5 separate regions of the Homo sapiens genome follow, and regions 1, 3, 4 and 5 are each linked to region 2. Evidence: promoter capture Hi-C in 16 types of primary human blood cells and fetal thymus (Javierre and others, 2016). All regions are on one chromosome and are shown on one strand. The core of a region is centred on a gene start or on the middle of the fragment in contact, and the rest is flanking DNA. Distances in the headings are between cores, read along the strand shown. Region 1 overlaps HAPSTR1 (HUWE1 associated protein modifying stress responses). Region 2 holds the start of DEXI (Dexi homolog). Region 3 holds the start of USP7 (ubiquitin specific peptidase 7). Region 4 holds the start of HAPSTR1 (HUWE1 associated protein modifying stress responses). Region 5 overlaps SNX29 (sorting nexin 29).

Evidence for each region. Contacts are between HindIII fragments. The CHiCAGO score rates a contact against its expected background, and 5 or more counts as called.
Region 1: a contact is called between a fragment that was not itself captured here and the fragment with the promoter of DEXI in region 2, in 1 of 17 cell types (endothelial precursors). The highest score is 5.1, in endothelial precursors.
Region 3: the fragment with the promoter of USP7 here is called in contact with the fragment with the promoter of DEXI in region 2 in 12 of 17 cell types (fetal thymus, non-activated CD4 T cells, M1 macrophages and 9 more); the score reaches 15.6 in fetal thymus.
Region 4: the fragment with the promoter of HAPSTR1 here is called in contact with the fragment with the promoter of DEXI in region 2 in 8 of 17 cell types (M0 macrophages, M2 macrophages, non-activated CD4 T cells and 5 more); the score reaches 16.8 in M0 macrophages.
Region 5: a fragment that was not itself captured here is called in contact with the fragment with the promoter of DEXI in region 2 in 7 of 17 cell types (naive CD8 T cells, activated CD4 T cells, total CD8 T cells and 4 more); the score reaches 13.3 in naive CD8 T cells.

What each region holds. Positions count from the first base shown.
Region 1 is chr16:9,120,986-9,123,685 of GRCh38, forward strand. It overlaps HAPSTR1 (HUWE1 associated protein modifying stress responses), which reads left to right. Exons shown (of 4, transcript NM_014117.3): 4 at 1-650. Among named protein-coding and RNA genes, the nearest start is that of HAPSTR1, 31 kb to the left of the region's middle. RefSeq lists an enhancer at 2,504-2,700. The HindIII fragment of the contact is 6,607 bases long and covers 1-2,700 here.
Region 2 is chr16:10,941,061-10,943,760 of GRCh38, forward strand. It overlaps DEXI (Dexi homolog), which reads right to left and starts at 1,408. Exons shown (of 2, transcript NM_014015.4): 1 at 509-1,408. The coding sequence starts at 945. The coding sequence ends at 658. It also overlaps a transcript of CIITA not described here. RefSeq lists a silencer at 998-1,547. The HindIII fragment of the contact is 2,950 bases long and covers 328-2,700 here.
Region 3 is chr16:8,962,592-8,965,291 of GRCh38, forward strand. It overlaps USP7 (ubiquitin specific peptidase 7), which reads right to left and starts at 1,315. Exons shown (of 31, transcript NM_003470.3): 1 at 616-1,315. The coding sequence starts at 694. It overlaps USP7-AS1 (USP7 antisense RNA 1), which reads left to right and starts at 122. Exons shown (of 2, transcript NR_184341.1): 1 at 122-303. RefSeq lists an enhancer at 1-222 and a silencer at 1,418-1,777. The HindIII fragment of the contact is 5,189 bases long and covers 1-2,700 here.
Region 4 is chr16:9,090,237-9,092,936 of GRCh38, forward strand. It overlaps HAPSTR1 (HUWE1 associated protein modifying stress responses), which reads left to right and starts at 1,408. Exons shown (of 4, transcript NM_014117.3): 1 at 1,408-2,034; 2 at 2,685-2,700. The coding sequence starts at 1,809. RefSeq lists an enhancer at 1-438 and silencers at 349-479, 1,268-1,337, 1,508-1,847, 2,058-2,557. The HindIII fragment of the contact is 14,700 bases long and covers 1-2,700 here.
Region 5 is chr16:12,082,370-12,085,069 of GRCh38, forward strand. All of the region lies in intron 11 of SNX29 (sorting nexin 29), which reads left to right. Among named protein-coding and RNA genes, the nearest start is that of SNX29, 110 kb to the left of the region's middle. The HindIII fragment of the contact is 5,369 bases long and covers 1-2,700 here.

The sequences.
Region 1 (2,700 bases), core at 1-2,500, 1.8 Mb before region 2:
TTGTTTTTTGAGATGGAGTCTCTGTCGCTGGAGTGCGGTGGTGCGATCCCAGCTCACCGCAATCTCTGCCTCCCGGGTTCAAGCGATTCTCCTGCCTATAACTACAGGTGTGCGCCACCACGCCCAGCTAATTTAATTTTGAATTTTTAGTAGAGACGGGATTTCACCATGTTGGCCAGGCCAGTCTTGAATTCCTGACCTTAAGTGATCTGCCCGCCTTGGCCTCCCCAAGTGCTGGGATTACAGGCATGAGACACTGCGCCTGGCCTATGTTTTAAGTTTCTCTATGACAAATTTCTGTAGATGAACTATCTGGGTCAAAAAAATTCATCTATAAAATACTGATGGGTCTTGCCAAAGTACCTTCTGCAAGGTACCAGTTAATACTTCCATCAGAAAGTAAGAGCGCCTGTTCCCTTACATCGTAGCCAGTGTTGGGTATTTATACTTCCTTTGGCAGAAGTGACCTTTCAGTTTTAATCTGTTTTTTACCTGCTCGTATGAAGGAAGACTTTTTGCTTGATATCACGTGGGTTTGAATGCTGACTCTACTACCAGGTCTGGGAACCTAGGTAAGTTTGCCTCTCTGGGCTGTTTTCTCATCTGTGAAATAAATAGAAAACATAGAAAAATAAATTAAAAAATGTGAATGTTAGTGACTTGTGTTCCTTGGAAGTTGGATACATTTACATCTCCATTTATAATTCTCCCATCAGCAGAGCCCTGGAGAACTCTGGAATGTGGCTGATAGCTTATCTTAACATGCCATTGAAAAATTAGCCCTTTTTGGCTAGGCGTGGTGGCTCACGCCTGTAATCCCAGCACTGGGAGGCCAAGGCGGGCAGATCACGAGGTCACAAGAGATTGAGACCATCCTGGCCAACATGGTGAAACCCCATCTCTACTAAAAATACAAAAATTAGCTGGGCGTGGTGGTACGCACCTGTAGTCCCAGCTACTTGGGAGGCTGAGACAGGAGAATCACTTGAATCCGGGAGGTGGAGAGGTTGCGGTGAGCAAAGATTGCACCACTGCACTCCAGCCTGGCGACAGAGCAAGACTCCGTCTAAAAAAAAGAAAAAGAAAAATTAGCCCTTTCTTTTTTCTTTGAGACAGGGTTTTACTCTCTTGCCTAGGCTGGAGTGCTTTGGTGCGATCATAGCTCACTGCAGCCTCGATAGGTAACACACTAAGTGGTGAGTTTTCAGGGAAGGGGCTTGTTCACATGTAAGAGAGATTTTAATTTTTCAAACTGAAGTTGAATGCCCTCCTAGGAGATGCCACAGGCCGGCAAGTACAGGCTGCCTCACTTCACTAGTACTTAACCCTCAAGCAGGGAAGCTACTCCCCTTTAGCCCAAGTAGAGGGAGTATGGGGTGCTGGTGTGGTTGCTGTGCACGGCCGCTGTTGGGGAGGGCCGTAGCATTTGCTTGTGTTTTAGGCCTGGTGGGCGTGTTCTCTGAGTTGCTGCTGGAAGTGTTGGGGCTCTCATCACTTAGTGGAATTGCCTTTGGGAGCTTCAGAAGGCCTGTGGTTTTCTGCAGCTTCAGCAACAAGGAGGGCTCAGCTGGCTGACAAGAGTTTTGTAGCTTGACCCTGGAAGAAGGGTTTGGGGGTGCCTGGGGCAGCCAGCTACCACTGGGCTGCTTTTGGCACCGGTGGGTCCAGTGGGCTCAACACTCAGAACTATTTGCTTGTGGACTCATAATCTGAATGCCCTCTATAAACCCACCAAGGTATGTGCCACTATAACTTAGAGCTTTAAGGAAGGATTCTAAGACCATTCATACCTCTTCCTCAGGAGTGGCGGTGCCAGGGCTGAAGTTCCCTGGGGAAAAGGGGATCACCTGCTAAACTGTCCTTGAGTGTAGTGGGCAGGAGCTTAATCACTCCCAAACTCTTTTCCCCATGGTGAGTCTCAAGATCACCATGGCCATGTTGATTTCAAGGTGTATGTAGAAATTTGTAACTACCAAGAAGTTCTTATTTGCTGTTTGGGGTCTCTTAGGTTAATGTGAATGTTGTATAGAACTGTGTTTGCGTACACAATTGCATTGGGCACAGGAAGGCTCGCCTCTTGCCCATCCTCAGTGTTTCTCAGACATACTGGACTATGATCTGTGGTAAGAAATACCTCTCCCATCAAGATCTTTTACCCAGCCACACCTTTTGTGAATGAACACACAGAACTGATGAAACAGGTCTCAGCAGTTCTTAGCTTTTTATGTCAAATGCACTTTATAGCTTCTTGCTGTTTCACTGAACAGGATGTTGTATGTGACCAACTGTGTTGATTTCACAGCCAGCTTGAAAACCTGGGCTCTCTGGACCTCAGCATGCAGCACAGGGTAGGTATAGACATTTCTTGAATGAGTTCATAAAAGGTGGCTTGAAGTTTTCTAGGTTTTCACAAGGAACTCCCTATTTTTCCTCTTCCTGGGCCTTAGGTCTGTCAAGAACTAGGGTGGTGGTGAAGAGAAGGACTTTGGGGTCAGTAGGGTGTAGGTGACAGTCCCACTGGCGGCCTGCCTCCCGGGCCCCTCCCTCAAGGTTATGGTGTGGAGGATGCCTAGCACCATGCCTGGTGCGAAGTGAGGACTCAGATGTTAGCCTTTAAATGTGCTTGTCGTGGCATGGCTGGATAAGATTCCCTTCTCAGAGTCCGAGGGCTCGCTTCTGGGTTCTGCACTGGCCTCCAGC
Region 2 (2,700 bases), core at 158-2,657:
TCACAGCTTTGGCCTAGAGCCCCTGCACTTAATCCCCACCCAGCTACCCCAAGGGCCACAGTACAAAGGTGATTCGTGCCTGGCTCCCTGTGTCTTCTGACACCCCTAAATCTTTATCCTTCTAGGACAAGCGAGAATCCCCCAAAAGCCAAGGTCATCATCAAGCCAGGATGAGGACTGGAGGAGGAGCTGACAGCTCTGCCTCAAATGGATTTGGGAGCGAAGGCTTTTTCCATAAGCTTTGGGGGTAAGTCACAGAGCTACCCCAAATGTAACTTAGTCTCGGGGTCTCCTTCCTTTTCACCAGCTGTCCCCTTTGCTGGAGGAAGCTTTCCAGCCCAAACGAAGGGCTTAAGAGGAGTCTGGCCATTCCTGGCATCCAGTTAGACCTGGAGGAGGTGAACGGAGGAGAAGCCTGAGGGAGGGGTGTGTATCCGGCCTGGGAATTCCTCCCTCTCCCTTGCTAGCGCCCCAACCCGCCCTCATCCTGTTCAGAGAGGGCACTTACAGGCCTCGGAGGCAGGGGAGGGTCTCCTCCTGGGGAACCATCCCCGTCCAGATGGTGCCCCCAACCAGCTGCGGCGGCATGATCTGGGCGGCTGGTCCAGGGCATGGGTTGCGGATCGTGTAGGGAAGAGGGGAACAGCAGTCGAGACCCTACTCCAAGTACGCATCAAAGACGTCGAGCTCCGAGTCAGCATCGTAAAGGCCCGAGCCGGGGTCGGAGAGCACGCCGAGGTCCACGAGCGCCTGGTCCATGTCCTCGGGCAGGAAGACGAGGCCCACGTTGAGGACGATGTACTCCATGAGGAAGGCGTAGTACAGGATCAGCACATTGACGAAGAACAGGCCCACGTAGAACATAGAGGGCAGCAGCGGCGGCGGCACGTAGGGGACCAGGGGGCCCAGTGCGTCCAGGTGGGCCGCGACCCGGGCGCCGAGCATGCAGCGGGTGGCAAGGGCGGCGGCCCGGCGATCCCGGCGAACTCAGCCGCTGCGGCGCCCGGGCGGCCGGCGAGGGCACAGCGCAGCCATCCAGGGGTACCCTGGAGCCCGACAGAAGCAGGGCCGGGCTCCAGATGTCCCCTGGCAATTGCGCCCCGACCCCCGAAATGCGCCGGGCGGGTCACCGCACCCCGAGATGTGCCCCCAAGGATCTCTCGACCGCCCGGGCGGCGAGGCGGGCCCCCCTGAAGTGGCCCGCGGCTGCCCGGCTCCCTCGTGGCGCCTCCCTGGCGCTCGCAGGGCCTCGCAGAGCCGGTGGGGATCCCACCGCGGCTCAGTGTCTAGGGCCGGTCCCGGCAGCCTTCTCTCCCGCCCCGCCCCGCAGGTCCTCGCGCACCCCCCGCGCCCCCGCAGGCCCAGCACCCATGGCTGCGGCCGCCGCGTAGCCCTCCCGGTGGCGCTCGGAGCTCCGCCTCCCGAGGGGCCCCGAGCTCATTGGCAGGCCGCCCCCTGCACGCGCTAATTGGCCGGCTCAACGCCCGCGCTGATTGGCTCCGGCCGCCAGGGGGCGGGTACCGCTTCGCTCCGCCCCTCGGGGCCCTAGCGTCTGAGTTGCTTTCCTGGTTCGGGTCTGCCCTCAGATCTCAAATCGAATTCGCTCTGCGTATCGAATAGGGGGAGGTAAAAGAGACTGAACACAGTTCAAACCTAGACATAATGCTAAGGCCGCAAAAGCCGAAGGAAACCCGGGCTACCGCTGCACCTTGCTGCATGCCTCTTTGGGACTCCGTTTCTCCTTTAAAAGGAGGCGGGGTCGGGGAGGGGCGACGGACGGTTGCCCTGGAAATTTTGGACATTCCCAAAGCGCCAATTTTCATGGTGGAGATCCACCAGTGTCCCCTTCGCTTCTCCAAACTCTGGTTGCTGGAAGGTCCGCCCACTACGGAACCTGCATCCTAGAGTTAAGGAACACCTGAATAAAGAGATTCCGAGGTAGTTCAGATCTTCAACCATAAGGATGCTTTTTGTTTCTTTTTACTTTGTGAATCATGTTTAAAAGCAATAATACACATGGCTAAACATTCAAACAACCGTGAAGTACACAGAAAAGTGAGTCTCTCCCACCCACTGGTTCCCCTGCTCTTGGGTAACCGTTGCATGTCTTTCAGGAAAACATGATCTCGCCCAAAGAGCCTTCCAAAGCAGTTCAAGAAACCTTTAAATCTCAGGCCACACTGAGCTGAGTATTTTACATGCATCGCTTAATCGGAGGTATACAAGGCAGTGTAGTATGTATGTGCGTACTTTTTACAGATGAAAAATACGAGCCCAGGGATCCTACATTTCTGAGCCTGGGTGTGTTTCTTTGGAGGCCAGATCCTGTTCTTTTTTGCTCCATGACTTTGTCTTGCCCCACTCTATATGAATTACAGGACAAACCATTAACTCTCCACTCTTATCCATTTCTCCAACTGCTGAAGGTGAAACAAACCTTTACTCATTCATGCACTCTACCAATATTTGTTAAACACCTGCTATGTGCCAAACCTTGTGCTAGGCACTGGGGAGAACATTGGCCTCTGGCCCAGTTCTTTCTTGAGCAGAGTTAATGGGACACAGTGGACCTTTAATAAGGTTGATATGTAGAAGTGACTGAATGAATGAATGGATGGTAAACTTGAGAAGTCTTGCCCACACTGAACTTACCACTTCTAATCCAGGGTAGAAGTTAGATATATTCTGGCTCATGCAGAA
Region 3 (2,700 bases), core at 65-2,564, 2.0 Mb before region 2:
CCCCGAAAAACAGGTGGATTCGGAAACCAACAGCGCCCGGGTCAGAACTCTGGGCCAGTCCAAAACCTGACAACATCTGCGTTCCTTGCAGGTATTTTCGAACGTAAGCCCGACGCTAGGCAGTGCTGTTAGAAAGTGATTTGGAAGAGCGCTTCCGAGCCACGGCGCGCCCTCCGGGGGAGCGCACCGGAGCAGGTGCGGGCGAGCCCCGCGCCCGGGGAGGTCAGGAATTCCCCAGCCACACCAGATCCAACCGGACGCCCCAGAACGGGGACGGTCCCCGGAGTCCGCCTCCCAACCTGGGTGAGAAAACACCTCCGTCCCTCCGCTGCCTGAGCGCTCGAATTTACAACTCAGGGCGCTTTGTGCCGCGGAGGCCCGGCGGACGCGAGGTCGGGACAATGCACGGGGCCGGGGTCCCGGCGGCCGCCCCTCGCCCGCGGACCCGGCATGACTTTGCAGCCTCGCAGGCCGGGGCCGGGAGGCCAGGCCGAGGCCCGGCGGCCGCCCGGGGCCTGGTTAAAGATGGCGAGCCCCTCGCGTGGCTCCCGCGGCTCCCCCGGCCACAATGAAAGGCGCCCCCCGGCCCCGCCGCGGCCGGCCCTCGGGCCTCACCTTCCATCTCCATGTCCTCGGGCTCGCTCAACTGCTGCTCGCCCGCTTTCTGCTGCTGCTGCTGCTGCTGGTGGTTCATGTCGGCCGCGGCCTGGGCCTCGCCTGCGGCCGGGGGCCGGGGCTGCGAGCCCGGCGGGCGGGCGGCGGCGAGCCGGGGCGGCGGCGGCGGCGGCGGCGGCGGGGCGGCCTCCTCCTCCTCCTCCCGCGCGTCGTCGGCGACGGCGGCCCCGGGGCGGCCCGCGGCGGGCGGCGGCGGCGGCAGGGAGACGCGCACGTACTTGCTCGCGATTCGCCCAATCTCGGCGCCGAGGCGGGCGGGCGGCCGGCGGGCCGGGCCGGGCGGCCTCGTCGCTCGCTGCGGCCGCCGCCGCCGCCGCCGCGGGGCCCGCCTCCCGCCGCCGGGGCCGGGGCCGGGGCTGCGGGGCCGCGGGCCGGCCGGGGGCGGAGGGCGGCCGGTCGGGGGCCGCGGAGTCAGCCCCGCCTCGGGCCGGGCGCGGCGGACGGGAGGCCTGGCCGGCCGCGGCGGGCCTGCGGGCCCTGGGGCCGGCGGGAGCGGCGGAGCGGGCGGGCGACGGGCCGGCCGCGTTCCGAGAGCCGCGGCCTCCGCCTCCTCGGCGTCGTCGTCGGGGCTCCGGCAGCGGACGCGGCGCCCGGCAGCTCGGCTCGGCTCGCTCTCAAAATGGCGGCGGCGTGAAATGTCACATCCGCATGGGGGGCCGCGGAGCGAGCGAGCGAGCGAGGAGAGCAAGCGGGCGGGCGCCGAGCCGGAGGGCGGAGCGGGAGCGCAGGGCGGAGCACGGGAGGCGGAGCAGGGAGCGACCCGCCTGCCGCCGCCGCCGAGGCCCGCCTGCCCCGCAGCGCCGCGCCCCGGCACCGCCTGCGCCGCAGCCCCGCGGCGGACCCTCGGCGCTCCCTGCCCCCGGGCCCTGGGGGCCGAGGCGGGCCGCCCGGTGACTTAGCCCTGCGGAGGTGAACCGGAATCCTTCCCATCCTGGGGAGCCGGACACCCCGAAAGACCCAGGAGCGGCAATGAGGAGGGGCCCAGAAGCCACCCGGCAGCCGGGGTTCAGGTCCCAGCCTAGCGCGCCGGGGCGAGCGCTGGAGGTTGCCCGGGGACTGCTCGGGATAGGGCCCGGAAGGGAGCTTGGGGTCAGCGCCTAGAAGTTCCTGTTATTGTCGTTACTTACCCTTGCCCGCTGACGTGCACTTTTTCACCCAGTATCTACCGTGGAAGAATTTATTTTCTCACTGTCAGCCTAATCTGGCAAAGTTTGGCTCCTCAAGAGCAACCCCAGGCGGGGCGCAGCTGCTCACACCTGTGATCCCAGCACTTTGGGAGGCCGAGGTGGGAGAATCACTTGAGGCCAAGAGTAAGAGACCACCCTCTCTACAAAGGTTTTGGGTTTTGTTTTTATATTTTTGAAATGTATTTTTAATTAGCCGGGTGTTGTGCCTCCTGCCTGTAGTGACAGCTACTTGGGAGGCTGAGGCTGGAGGTTCGCTTGGGAGGTTGACTGAGGCTGCAGTGATCAAAGATGGCGCCACTGCACTCCAGCCTGGGCAACAGAATGAGACCCTGTCTCAACTAATAGTGATAATAAAATAATAATATAAAAATAAAACAAGCCCACTACCCTTCACATTTGGTATTAATTTACTTCCTTCCTATCAACCCAGTCTGGGATCATTCACCCGGGGCCTCCCTATTCCAGGAGACATTTGGTGAATATATCTCCTGTCCTGTCTCATTCAGTCATTGACAGACTGATGATTAGGGTCTCAACTTTTCCAGTTAATCAAGGCAGTGTGGGTCAATAAAAATGGAGCAAACCGATATACATTTCTACACATCTCAGGGGAGAATAGAATTTCACCCTAACAAGGCCAGAAGATTGTGGTACCTGTCTTCTCTCCATCTCCCTATACCCGCTTTCCCTGCATTTTTCTCCCATTTATGTACTGTTCATCTCCCTTCCCCCCGAAAGAATGTTTTGCTCACTGTTGTATCACAAATGCCTGGGATACACAGCAAGTGCTCAATAAAAATTGGTTGGGCCAGGTCGGCGCGGTGGCTCACACCTGTAA
Region 4 (2,700 bases), core at 158-2,657, 1.9 Mb before region 2:
GGCCGCGGTGAGGGGGTCAGATTTTCTTCCAAAGCCGCCTTGCTCTGTGCAAGCGCACTATCGCAGGCTGCGGGCGACGCTGCCTCTGGCCGGCGCCCTCCGCCGCTCCAGGCCGGATGGTGCCTCCCGTGGGCATGTAGGTGGGGATGGTGGGTTTTGCCTCTGTGCGGTCACCGCCTGTCTGCGTTGCTGCCTTCTCCGGGGCCTCAGACCCTGGAGAAAGCCCCGACAGGGGAGGGGGGCGCGCAGCCGCAGGGGCGTCCAGCTATCGCGCACTGCGGGGGGAGTAGGGGCGGGCGCAGCGCTCGGCACCGCCACGCGGGTTCGGGCCGGGGAAGGCAGGGGCCGGTACGTGACGCGGGGCATGCACGTGGCCTGGGAGTGTGCTTTTCGGGACAGGTGCGGGGGCCGCCGCGCGCGCAAAGGCGCAGACGCACGCGTGCGGGCACCGGGCACCGTCGGCCGTCGGGTTATCCTTGGCTCCGCGGGCGGCCGCCGAGGTCCTGTCCACCCGGAAGGCGCGACGTCCTCGGGGGACGCCAGGGCGCAGGGGCAACTGAGCCGACTTCGCAACTCGGAAGTTTTTCTTTGGCTGTGATGGTCGATTTGCCCGTCTAAGAAATGGGACTCTGGGCCGGGCGCGGTGGCTCAAGCCTGTAATCCCAGCGCCCTGGGAGGCTGGAAGATCGCCTGAGGCCAGCAGTCTAGACCTCGACAACGTAGCAAGACCCCGTCTCAAAAAAAAAAAAAAAAAAGGGGGAGTACTCAAAAGAATAGGAAAGCGCTTTGCAAACTTGGACACGAGTTGGGCGTTTTATTCACTTTCTCTACTACCCTCCTCCCTTTGGGAGCCCCAGGGGCTGGAGTAAGCACGCTACCACCCACTATACCTCTCAGTGCCCGCGGCACAGGAGCCGCACTCGACTTTGCATCCCCCCAGGGCCTGTACACGCCGGAAAAGCTCCCGCGGGGTGCGGTCGCTGGGCCTCGTCACGTGATCCCCACTCAACGCCCCTGAGCGGGGGGGGGAGCAGCGAGCAAGTGCGCATGCGCATCCCTTCTAGCTCTTCCCCTCCACCCCCCACCCGCCCCCTTGGCTCGGACGCAACCACTGTCAGCTCCTCCCCCTCCTCCTCCTTCATCCTTCCTGACATTCACTCCCTTCCCCCAGCCAATTGGTTACGTCAGGCAGACAGGCCGAAGAACCAATCACGACGCTGTGCTCAGAAGCCGCCACGCGGAACCGGCCGGATCCGACTAATAGGGGCCCTTGGAGCGGCCACGCCTCAACCGGGCAGGGTAGCTTGGGCCCAGTGGGCGGTGCTTCTCCTGTCAGCATGTGGGCGGGGTAGGGCGGGGACCAGCAGCCGCAGAGCCGTCCTCGGCGGTGGCGACGACGACGACGTTGCTCAGTCTTGGGGTGGGCTCCGCGGTGCAGGCCGAGCTGCGCGGAGGGCTCGGCGATCAGCGGCGGCGGCGGCAGTGGGGAGGCCGCAGCGCCATGGGGGGGCGTTAGACAGGCTGCGGCGGCCGAGGCGAGGGGCGGCAGCGGTTATCTGGTCCGCGGCGACCTTCGGCCGGGCCCGGGGGTGGGAAGGCCTGGGGCGGGGGTCGTCCCTGGTTGCACGGGGCCGCGGGGCGGGGCTCGCCGGCCGTCGGGGTGCAGGAGGCCTGGGCCGCTGAAAGGAGAAGGCGCCGTCGGTCGCCAGGCCCTGCCGCCGGGCCGCTTGACGACGACGCTCCCGCGGGGGCCCCGCCTGAGGAGGACGCGGCGGCGGTGGCGGCGAGGCCGCGGGAGGCCGCGGAGGATGGAGGAGCGGAAGGAGGAGGGCGAGGCCGAGATCCAGGAGCACGGGCCCGAGCACTGGTTCTCCAAGTGGGAGCGGCAGTGCCTGGCCGAGGCCGAACAGGACGAGCAGCTGCCCCCCGAGCTGCAGGAGGAGGCGGCGGCCGCCGCGCAGCCCGAGCACAAGCAGCAGAAGCTGTGGCACCTCTTCCAGAACTCGGCCACCGCCGTGGCCCAGCTCTACAAAGGTGAGGCCGCCGCCGCCATCTTGGTACCGCTTGGCCGCCCCCGCCCGGGCCCGGCCCCGGCCCTATCGGCTCAGCGGCCGCTTCGGGGGGCCGCGACGGCGGCGGCCTCGGGGATCCCGGCCGGTGGCTCCGCGGCCCTGCCGCCCCCTCCCCGCAAGATGGCGCCGCGGGAGGGAGGCCCGGGGTTGGGGGGACAGGCCAGAGCCGGCGTGGGGGTAGCCCCGCTTTGGGGTGGTCCGAGGGTCCCCGCTCTCCGGGCCCGGCCACCCGGTGTCCCCCTCGGCCCGGAGACGGGAGAGGAGGAGCCCCCGTCACAAAATGGCGAAGGGAGACGGCGGGGCGGCCCCATTGTGCCCTGAGCCGGCCTCGGGGCGGGGACTGCCAGGGGGGGCGCTTCCCTGCGCCGCGGCTCGTCCCTGATCTGTGCCCCTGAGCTCTGCGGCATCCCCTTTTCCCCGCCGCGACCTCCCTGCCCCCCCGGTCCTCACACTGGGTTTGGGATCCCGAAACCCCTGAACAAAATGGCGAAACCTAATATGGCCGTTCCGGAGTGATTGACGCGCAAATAACATTCTTGTTCTCTTTCTTTCTCTTTCTATGTGTGTTTCTTTTTTCTTTTTGGTTTTTTTTTTTTTTGGCTTGCTTTTCAGACCGAGTGTGTCAGCA
Region 5 (2,700 bases), core at 108-2,607, 1.1 Mb after region 2:
ACGGTTTGCTTTGTCAGCTGCGTCTCAGGTCCACATAGAGCATGGTGTCTGGGCCTTCCTCAGCCGCTTTCTGTCTTTGAGGAAGTCACTGGCCTTGCCTGTGCATTTTCAGTGATGACATACATGCCCTTAAACATGCTCGAGTTAGGCCAGTGACAGAGGCGTAGATTGTTTTTCTTGTTTTGACTCAGACAATTTTTTAGAAACTATATCATTTTATTATTTGGCATTTTGAGCAAGTTTGGGACATATCCAGAGCTTATACCTTGAATCTCTGAAGAAAAAAATGTCACCATGTCTGCATTTGAGCCTTGATACTTGGTAGAAACGTGGTCTGTGGTTAGGATTGTGTGTGGGTGGCTGGGACAAGGGGCTTCTGTCTTCTGCGGTGCCTGTACCTTTAGGAGTCTTCAAGGACAGTGCTGTTGTCTACCCTGGATGTCATCCAGCACAGATGAGGGGTCAGGAATCCTAGAAATTTTGAGCGAAGGGTGGTTTTCACTTGTGTTTTCCCACCCTGCCATCACCTCCTGTGTCACATGCAAGAGGAGTAAGAAGAGTGGGTCTGTCTGGGTGTCCGGGGTATTTGCTTGGGCTACCATAACAAGGGGCCACAGATAGGGTGGCTTCAACAACAAAAACTTATTTTCTCGGCCGGGCACGGTGGCTCATGCCTGTAATCCTAGCACTTTGGGAGGCCGAGGTGGGGGGAATCACTTGAGGTCAGGAGTTCAAAACCAGCCTGGCCAACATGGTGAAACCCTGTCTCTACTAAAAATACAAAAAATTAGCATGGTGTGGTGGCTGGCACCTGTAATCTCGGCTACTCGGGATGCAGAGGCAGGAGAATCGCTTGAACCTGGGAGGCAAAGGCTGCAGTGAGCTGAGATTGCACCACTGCACTCCAGCCTGGGCGACAGAGCAAGACTATGTCTCAAAAAAAAAAAAAACCCCTCAAAACTTATTTTCTTACAGTTCTGGAGGCTGAAAGACCAAGATCAAGGTGCCAGCAGGGTTGATTTCTGGTAAGGCCTCTTTCCTTGGCTTGCAGACAGCCACCTTCTCTCTGTCCTTATGTGGCCTTTCCTCTGCAGGCACATCCTGGTGTCCCTTATCTCTTCTTATAAGGGCACCGGTCCTGTGGGATCAGAGCCCCATGCTTATGACCTTATTAACTTTGATTACCTCATTAAGGCCTTGTCTCCATATAAACTCCGATTGGGAGTTAGGTCTTCCACTGGTTCATTAGGGAAGGGATGCAATTCAGTCCATAGCATGAGTTGTCCCAGGAGTGAGTGTCGCAAATGCCGTCCCAGTTCAGATGGAGCATCCCATTGCTGCATGTGAAGCACCTGAGATTCTCCTCTAGAGCAGTCACTGGACTCTTGGAAACCCCAGAGGAGCTTGGCAAAGAAACTCATCAGCTCTGCCCCACAAAGCAGCGAATGCTTCACTCACATCCCGCCAAGTGGCTTCCCTGGCTTCGTGTAATAATCTGTGGAGGTGGCTGCCTCTGTACTGTAATTGAGCTAGAGCTAGGTAATTTAATCCTCAGTGCCTGCGGATAATTGTGAAGTCTTCTATCGAGCAACCTTTCCCTCTCAGGTATCTCTGAAATTGCAAAGGGTGTTTTGTCCTGAGGCATTCAGAGGGACTGTATTCTTGTGGTTATTTACTACTGAAGAGAAGATGGTGTATCCAGACCCACATGATTGTTCTCCTACTGCAAGGCCCTCTGGTACTTCAGAAAATACAAAAGCCTGTTATGAAAAAGTTAATTTTTTTTTTTTTTTGAGACGGAGTGTTGCTCTTATCGCCCAGGCTGGAGTGCAGTGGCACGATCTCGGGTCACTGAAACCTCCGCCTCCCGGATTCAGGCTATTCTCCTGCCTCAGCCTCATGAGTAGCTGGGATTACAGATGCCCGCCACCACACCCAGCTAATTTTTGTACTTTTAGTAGAGGCAGGGTTTCACCATGTTGGCCAGGCTGGTCTCGAACTCCTGACCTTGTGATCCGCCCACCTCGGCTTTCCAAAGTGAAAAAGTTAATTATTTAGCAAAGCAGTAAAGACAGTTTGGAGCAAACTAAAACACCCATAATTCTGCCTCAGGGATGCCTTGCATTTCTGCAGGTAGGTTCCCAGTTCTTGTTTCGGGCACACGGAGCTGTACCTGGGGTTGGAGTTGCAGCTGTGCCTGTTGCTCTCGGGAGGCCATGTGCCCTCAGGGCCGGGAGGGCACACTCGGAAGCTCAGCTGCCTGGGCTCAGGTTCCAGCTGAGTGGCCCCAGCCCCCTCAGTACCGTGTCCTTATCAAGATAGAGTGACAGGATCAACACCCAAATCATGGGCGGCCATGAAGATAACTGTGATGTGCTTAGAACAGCATCAGGATCAGAGTTAAGAGTCAATAAATAGGCCGGGTGCAGTGGCGCACACCTGTAATCCCAGCACTTTGGGAGGCCAAGGTGGGCAGATCACTTGAGGGCAGGAGTTTGAGACTAGCCAGGCCAACATAGTGAGACTCTGTCTCTATAAAAAATAAAAAAAATTACCTGGATATGGTGGTGCGTACCTGTATTCCCAGCTAATTGGGAGGCTGAGGCAGGAGGATTCTTTGAGCCCAGGAGGTCAAGGCTGCAGTGAGTTATGATTACACCACTGCACTCCAGCCTGGGTGACAGGGCTAGACCCGTCTCA